Regions from separate parts of the Homo sapiens genome. Here region 1 is linked to region 2. The links are contacts of gene promoters, found by promoter capture Hi-C in human tissues and cell types (Jung and others, 2019). All regions are on one chromosome and are shown on one strand. The core of a region is centred on a gene start or on the middle of the fragment in contact, and the rest is flanking DNA. Distances in the headings are between cores, read along the strand shown.

Region 1 (4,023 bases), core at 1,410-3,909, 1.1 Mb before region 2:
ATCACAAGGTCAAGAGATCAAGACCAGCCTGGCCAACGTGGTGAAACCCCGTTTCTACTAAAAATACAAAAATTAGCTGGGCGCGGTGGCATGCTTGTAGTCCCAGCTACTCAGGAGGCTGCGGCAGGAGAATCACTTGAACCTGGGAGGCGGAGGTTGCAGTGAGCCAAGACTGCACCATTGCACTCCAGCCTGGGTGACAGAGCGAGACTCTATCCCAAAAAATAAATAAATAAAAATAAACTTAATAAAAATTATGAGGGCAAAGAAGAAAATGTATCTAACTCTCTTTGGGCAAGTCAGGGAAGGTTTCCCAGAAGAAGTGGCATTCTTTATGAGATTCAGAAGCTACCTGTAATTAAAAAGAACTGTATTTCAAAAATTAGCTGGGCAAAGTGGCACAGGCCTATAGACCCAGCTACTGAGGAGGCTGAGGTAAGAGGATCACTTGAACTCAGGAGGTGGAGGTTGCAGTGAGCCGAGATCGTGCCACTGTGCTCCATGGAGCCTGGGCAACAGAGCCAGAACTTGTCTATATAAAAAAAAAAAAAAAAAAAAGAAAAGAAAAACCACTGTATTTGCTCACACATTAACTATAAGGTACAGAAGTAGGGCTGGATAGGAAGGCAAACACCAACAACATAAAGGGCCTTGAATACCACTCAAAGTTTACATTTTAATCTTTTAATAACTGGAAACTACTAAATACTTTTAAGATGAGGAAAGTAGAATAATCAGTAAGTGTTAGACTATTTTGAAGGCACGATGATAGAGAGTTTACAAGAGAATAAGACAGCCGGGTGCGGTGGCTCACGCCTGTAATCCCAGTACTTTGGGAGGCCCAGGTGGGCGGATCACTTGAGGTCAGGAGTTTGAGACCAGCCTGGGGCAACATGGTGAAACCTCGTCTCCACTAAAAATACAAAAATTATCTGGGTGTAGTGGCAGACACCTGTAATCCCAGCTACTCAGGAGGCTGAAGCAGAACAATCACTTGAACCCAGGAGGTGGAGGTTGCAGTAAGCTAAGATTGCACCACTGCACTCCAGTGACAGAGTGAGACTCCACCTCAAGAAAAAAAAAAAAAAAAGAAAAAGAGAGTAAGACTATAAACAGATGTGTAAGCGATCAAGGCAATATCCCAAAATAAGAGCTGTTGAATGAGAACAGCAATGGAGACACAGAAGAAGCTAGATTCAGAAATATTTAGAAAGTAATAGGTAAGACAGAAGTGACAATGATGCTCACATTTCTGGTTTAGATGACTCAATGAATCACAGGGAAGAAATGATGTTGGAAATGTTGAGTTTGAGTACCAACTTGATACAAAGGTATAGATACGTCTAGCTCACAGTAGACAACCGGAAACAAAGGGCTGGAGTTTAGGAGAGAAATGATAATATATTGAATATATATGAAGTTTTTTTCAATAATCAAGTGTATTTTACCATTTTAACGGGAAGGCAATAATTTCATCATTATTTGCATTATGCTTTAAAGTTCACAAAACATTTTATGCTTGTATTTCATACTTTTGTTACATACAAACATGAGATTAGTATGACAGGTTATTTTTATTCCTATTGGATCAACAAACTTTTATTTGTTTATTTATTTATTTTTGAGAGAGAGTCTCACTCTGTTGACCAGGCTAGAGCACAGTGGCACAATCTCGGCTCACTGCAACCTCTGCCTCCCGGGTTCAAGCTATTCTCTGCCTCAGCCCCCCGAGTAGCTGGGATTACAGGCGCCCACCACCATGTCTGGCTAATTTTTGTATTATTAGTAGAGATGGGGTTTCACCATTTTGGCCAGGCGGGTCTTGAACTCCTGACCTCGTGATCTACCCCCCTCGGCCTCCCAAAGTACTAGGAATACAGGTGTGAGCCCCCGCACCCGGCCTATTTTTTTTTGAAACTGAGTCACACGCTGTCACCCAGGCTGGAGTGCAATGGCACGATCTCAGCTCACTGCAACCTCCACCTCCTGGGTTCAAGCAATTCTCTGCCTCAGCCTCCCGAGTAGCTGGGATTACAGGCAACTGCCACCATGTCTGGCTAATTTTTGTATTTTTAGTAGAGATGGGGTTTCACCATCTCGGCCAGGCTGGTCTTGAACTCCTGACCTCATGATACACCCGCCTCGGCCTCCCAAAGTGCTGGGATTTCAGGTGTGAGCCACCATGCCCCACATATCTTTTTTTTTTTTTGAAACTGAGTCTCACGCTATCACCCAGGCTGGAGTGCAATGGTGCAATCTCGACTCACTGCAACCTCCACCTCCCAGGTTCAAGCTATTCTCCTGCCTCGGCCTCTCAAGTAGCTGGGATTACAGGTGCCCACTGCCACGCCCAGCTAATTTTTGTATTTTTAGTAGACACGGGGTTTCACCATGTTGGCTAGGCTGGTCTCGAACTCCTGACCTCATGTGATCCGCCCGCCTCAGCCTCCCAAAGTGCTGGGATTACAGGCATGAGCCACCAACCCCGGCCAACAAACATTTATTATTAACTACATGCCAGGCACTGTACTAGGCACTAAACAAATTACCAAAACAAATCCATGCCTTCTAAGACCTACATCATAGAAAGAGAACCAATAGGCAATAAATGTAACAAATAAATATATTATAAAAGTGTTAAGTCCTATGAAAAAGAAAATAGAGCAGGCAAGGATAAGCATGAGGGATGGGAACTGACAATACAATTTTAAAGAAAGGAAGGATAAGACTTCATTAAAAAGGTGACATTTAAGCAAAGACGTTAAGGAGGTGAGGCAATCAGCCATTCTCTGTGGGGAAACCTAGCTGTTTTCCCACTAGAAGGAATCACTTGGTCTTAGGAACCTGCCAAGGTTCTAAGATAGAGTGTGACTGATCAGCATTCAAGGAGCAAGTCAGTGTGGCTGGAATGGAGAGAGCAAGAGGGAAGATGACAGCCGATCAAAAATGGAAGAGGTTGGGGAGGGCAAACCATGTAAAGCCTTAAAGGCTATTGCAAGGACTGGCATTACTCTGTCTGCAAGAAATGAGAATTCAAAAATTAGTAGCATTACCCAAAATCAGTTAGCTAATAAATCACAAAGCTAGAATTCAACCCAGGACTTCAAGGCTCTCCACAACCTGTGTTCCACTAGTCCAATCTGCCACATATTAGTTCATCCCCTCTCTTTCAGCAAGTTTGAGTTTAAATACTCTAAAAATGCTAACATTATAAAAATCCTCTGGGCAAGAGATGCACAAGTCTTTCAGTTAACATTTGCAATCCTTCACAATTATAATGAGAATTTATTAATCCTGGTGTCTAATCTAAATCCTACTAACATTCCAGCATGTATTTTTAAAGATTATAAATTCCACCCTCCCTTGAAATGAGACAAGCCGAAGAAAGCTTTGATCAAAAGATTTAAAGTACGACTCTCAGCTTTAGGTAACAGTAACCTGAATTATTTTTTTAAATGGATACTAAGGCCGGGCACAATGGCTCCATGCCTGTAATCCCAGCACTTTGGGAGGCTGAGGTGGGCAGATCACCTGAGGTCAGGAGTTCGAGACCAGCCTGGCCAACATGGTGAAACCGTCTCTACTAAAAATACAAAAATTAGCCAGGCATGGTGACAGGTGACTGTAATCCCAGCTACTTGGGAGGTTGAGGCAGGAGAATCACTTGAACCCAGGAGGCAGAGGTTGCACTGAGCTGAGATCACACCACTGCACTCCAGCCTGGGCAACAAGAGCAAAACTCCATCTCAAAAAATATAAAATAAAATAAAATAAAATGGAACTAGCCAGGTGTGAAAAACAGTAAGAGAATGGCTCAGGAATATGGAATTGCTATAATTTCCCTTAATTTCTTTAGCAGTTTACTAGTTATTATTAATAACAAGTTCACACATTGTCAAAGATGCTTCTGCAGTTACTATGATTCTTTGAGGTCTGGATCTGACCACTTCATATCTCAAAAGTAACGAATGATGTGTTCTTAGTAATCTGCTGCTTTTTGTACTATAACCCAAAACTGTTGAT
Region 2 (3,761 bases), core at 1,147-3,646:
TCTCTCCCAACACCAGTCCCTCCCTACTGCCCACCCCCACCCCCAATACTGGTCCTACCAAGCTTATTGGTTCCTCTCTGTTGCCCTCTAATCGTCCTCCTGAGCCTGCCCTCCCAACTGACCCCCACATTCCCACCCCACCCCACCCCACATCGGCTCCTCCCCGCTGGCAGACCCTGGTTTTCTCACGGCTGGCAAGTCCACAGAGCGCCAGTTTGAAGGGCATGAGCACGTAACACAGGTGGTAGGCTTGTGGTATGACCATCATGCAGCTGTCCTTGGCATCATCGAAAACCCGTGCACACTTCAGGTAAGGGTTGCCCAGTTCCGAGTTGCACACATCGCCGATGTGCAGGAGCCACTGCCACACATTCCGGAGAGCCCTGGCTGGGGACAGCTGCAGGGTTGGCACCCAGGGCTGGAATCCTACAGCCTCTTCTCAGGGTTTTGGGGAACAATACCACAGTATCCAGGGCTGGAGAGGCCTGTGGTCAGGGACCTGGCTGTGCTGTGTCCAGTGAACACTAGCCAGCGCCCAGAAGGGGCCCAAAAAACCCTGGACAGGGTACAGGTGAGGAGACTGAATTTTTTTGTTTCTGTTTGTTTGTTTTGTTTTGTTTTGTTTTGAGATGGAGTTTCGCTCTTGTTGCCCAGGCTAGAGTGCAGTGGAGTGATCTCGGCTCATTGCAACCTCCGCCTCCTGGGTTCAAGAGATTCTCCTGCCTCAGCCTCCTGAGTAGCTGGGACTACAGCTGCGTGCCACCACGCCCGGCTAACTTTTTGTATTTTTAGTAGAGACGGGGTTTCACGATGTCAGCCAGGATGGTCTTGATCTCCTGACCTCCTGATCCACCGCCTCAGCCTCCCAAAGTGCTGGGATTACAGGTGTGAGCCACCGCACCTGGCCCCCCCGCTTTTTTTTTTCTTTAGAGATGGAGTCTCACACTGTCACCCAGGCTGGATTGGAGTACAGTGGCACGATCATAGCTCACTGCAGCCTCAAACCCCTGGGTTCAAGAGATCCTTCCACCATAGCCTCCCCAGTAGCTGGGACTACAGACATGTGTCATTACATCTGGCTAGTTTTATTTATTTTCTATTTTTTTATTTTTTATAGAGACAGGGTCTCGCCATGTTGCCAAGGCTGGTCTCAAACTCCTGGGCTCAAGTGATTCTCCCACCTCGGCCTCGCAAAGTGCTGGGATTACAGGCATGAGCCACCGCACCCGGCCAGGACTGGGTGCATTTTGAGTCCCCGGGATAGACATGCTAATGTGCTTACCTATGTGTTTCACACCATCCATGATTGACCGAAAGAACTTGCGGACCCGGTCAGCCACCTCTTTGGTCTTCCGGGCAATAGCTTTAATCTTGTTCAGGGCACCTGATGGGTGAGGGACAGAGGCACTTTGGAGTCTTCTCCTCTAGGGGCTGGTTCTCACCATTGCCCCTTAAGCAGGGAGTAGAGAGGAGGCCACCATTTCCAGAGGCGGGAAGCCTGGATTCTGGGGCCTGGGAGATCGTTAATCTGGGAGTGGAGGAGGCCAGAGAGCAAGGAGAGAGGGTTTAGCTGTGCCCAGAGTCCCTTCCAGGCCCAGATGCTCCGCGATTAGCACCAGCAGAGAAGGAGGCCAAAGGACTGTAGAACATGCAGGATGAGGGGGGCGAGGGGGGCCCGTGGGAGACAGTGGTAGAGGTGGGGGACTTACTGACAAGAGGTTGCTTGGCCCTCTGTAGCACTTCGGCGGTCTGGTTCAGGGCCAGCTCTGCCCCACAGGCTACAGCCTCGCTGGCCCGGGTGAAGTTGCGTAGAGTGTTGGCACAAGGCCCTTGAAGCACCAACCCAAAAGCAGCCACCAACAGTAGTGTCCGGCCCTGCCCTGGGGGCGACAGCTTTGTTAGAACCAAGACCCCAGCCCCAAACATGGCAGCAAGTCCCTTACATAAGCCTTCAGAATATTTCCCTTAACCCCTGCCTCTCCTCCAGCATCTCTTCTGCCCCAGCACCAGCCCCAGGACCTGCCCCCTAGCCCTGGGTGCCAAGCTCACTGGAGAAGGCCTGAGGCAGCAGCAGGAGGACAGTGGCTCGGACCTGGCGAGAGAATCCCATGCCCAGGCTAAGGAAGGCAGCCAAAGTGAGGGTGCCCACCAGGCAACCCCAGGGGCTGTGGCCTTCCACCAGTAGCTCCAGAAGCCCGTAGGCCGTGGCTAAAGACAAGCCCAGGGTAAAACCTCCCACGCTGCGAACCACAGCTCTCGCCATGCTAGGCTCCTCTCCCCCCAAGGGGTGCACAACATCCTTCATGACTTTGGGCATGGCTGCTGAGACCAAATGTCTGCCTGTCTCCAGGAGATGCCCGCTGACTTCTGTGCTCCTGGAATTTCTCACCGTATTCTAAGGTTCCAAAGGGCTTTCACTGCATATGTCTTGGAATCCTTGACCCAGTTCCGAGGACTGGAGAGGGGATAGGTAGGTCTCTAATCTCCTTCCCCACTTCTCGGAGCAGAAGGATTAAAAGGCCCAGAGCTCAGGCCTAGGCTTCCCATGAAGCGGAAGAGACAGGCAGCACCTCTCTTCTCTCACCAGAACCTTGTGTCCAAGGAGGTCCTTCAGGAGACCTGGGATGAGTGGTGCTTCCCCAAAACAGACTCATGGACATTAAACATCATCAGAATGGCACAAGAGGGCAAAGAAGAAAACAGCCTCATACCAGTGAGTCACTCAGCAGAGACCCAGTATCCCTTGACCTCCACTCTCATCCCATCTCTCCTCCTGGAACTCCTGCACACTATCCCCCAACTCGGTGTCCGCGCCTCCACCACCTCTCTGGTCTAGTGCCTCCCGCCTCCCAGCCCAGCCCTTGCCTTTGCTGTCCCTTACACCCATACCACTTCCTCAGGCTCCCTCATCCTCCTCCAGGGTCCCCTAAGTTCCTACTGTTTCACATGCCAGGTTTCCCCAGCCTCTATCCACCTGCAAGCCCTGAATCCTAATGAGCCCCATCCCAGGCAGAAGAGTGGGCTGTTGAGCTACCCTGTCCCCCTCTTAGCGGTGCAGAGGCTCCTGACCTGGGGGCTGCCAGTCTCCTGTAGCTGGTTCCTGTGGCGCCAGCCGGGCGAGTTTCCTGTCACTGCTCTCCTGCTGGGGGCAGGCGCTGGGGGGCTCCTGGCCATAGGTGAGTGTGGAAGCAGAAAGTTCGGGGTGGGCAGAGGCTGGACCAGGGCTAGGACCCATCTTTTGGCCTTTGGCTTGACCTTGTGCCCTTAGGTCTCTTTCAGCTCCTGGTGAACCCCATGAACATCTACGAAGAACAGAAGATTATGTTCTTGTACAGCTTGGTGGGTTAGTGCTGGGCAAAAGCCAGGAACACTCAAGCGGCCTGTGGAACACAGCGCCGTCCTGCATGCCCAGGAAGGAGTCGGGACTTGTTTCTTCTGTACCCATACATCCCCTGTGGCTTCCGCCTCCTCCTGGGCTTTACGGGGAGGTCCAGAGGGAAGAGGCTGCCAATTTAAGAAGGAAGACACCGTCCTTGCCCTGAGGGAGTCTCTCCATTCCGAGGGACTCCCCATCACCCACATGATATAGTCCAACCCCATAACCCTTCATAACTCTCATCTCTCCTGACCTGTCTGACCTCGTTTTCTGATCCTCCTAAGAAATTAAATTCATTCATTCATTCATTCATTCACTCAGCACTTACTGAGAATCTGCTGAGGATTTAGCAGTAAACAAGGATGACAAGCATCCAGCCGTTTTG

Evidence for each region. Contacts are between HindIII fragments. The study calls those that stand out against the background at their distance.
Region 1: a contact is called between a fragment that was not itself captured here and the fragment with the promoter of DCST2 in region 2, in 1 of the 25 tissues and cell types used here (dorsolateral prefrontal cortex).

Annotation. Positions count from the first base shown.
Region 1 is chr1:153,915,204-153,919,226 of GRCh38, forward strand. All of the region lies in intron 1 of GATAD2B (GATA zinc finger domain containing 2B), which reads right to left. Among named protein-coding and RNA genes, the nearest start is that of GATAD2B, 5.8 kb to the right of the region's middle. The HindIII fragment of the contact is 5,978 bases long and covers 1-4,023 here.
Region 2 is chr1:155,031,385-155,035,145 of GRCh38, forward strand. DCST2 (DC-STAMP domain containing 2) reads right to left here and starts at 2,397. Exons shown (of 15, transcript NM_144622.3): 1 at 2,050-2,397; 2 at 1,710-1,880; 3 at 1,283-1,384; 4 at 190-387. The coding sequence starts at 2,317. DCST1 (DC-STAMP domain containing 1) reads left to right here and starts at 2,440. Exons shown (of 17, transcript NM_152494.4): 1 at 2,440-2,470; 2 at 2,588-2,713; 3 at 3,051-3,176; 4 at 3,269-3,343. The coding sequence starts at 2,653. The HindIII fragment of the contact is 8,066 bases long and covers 1-3,761 here.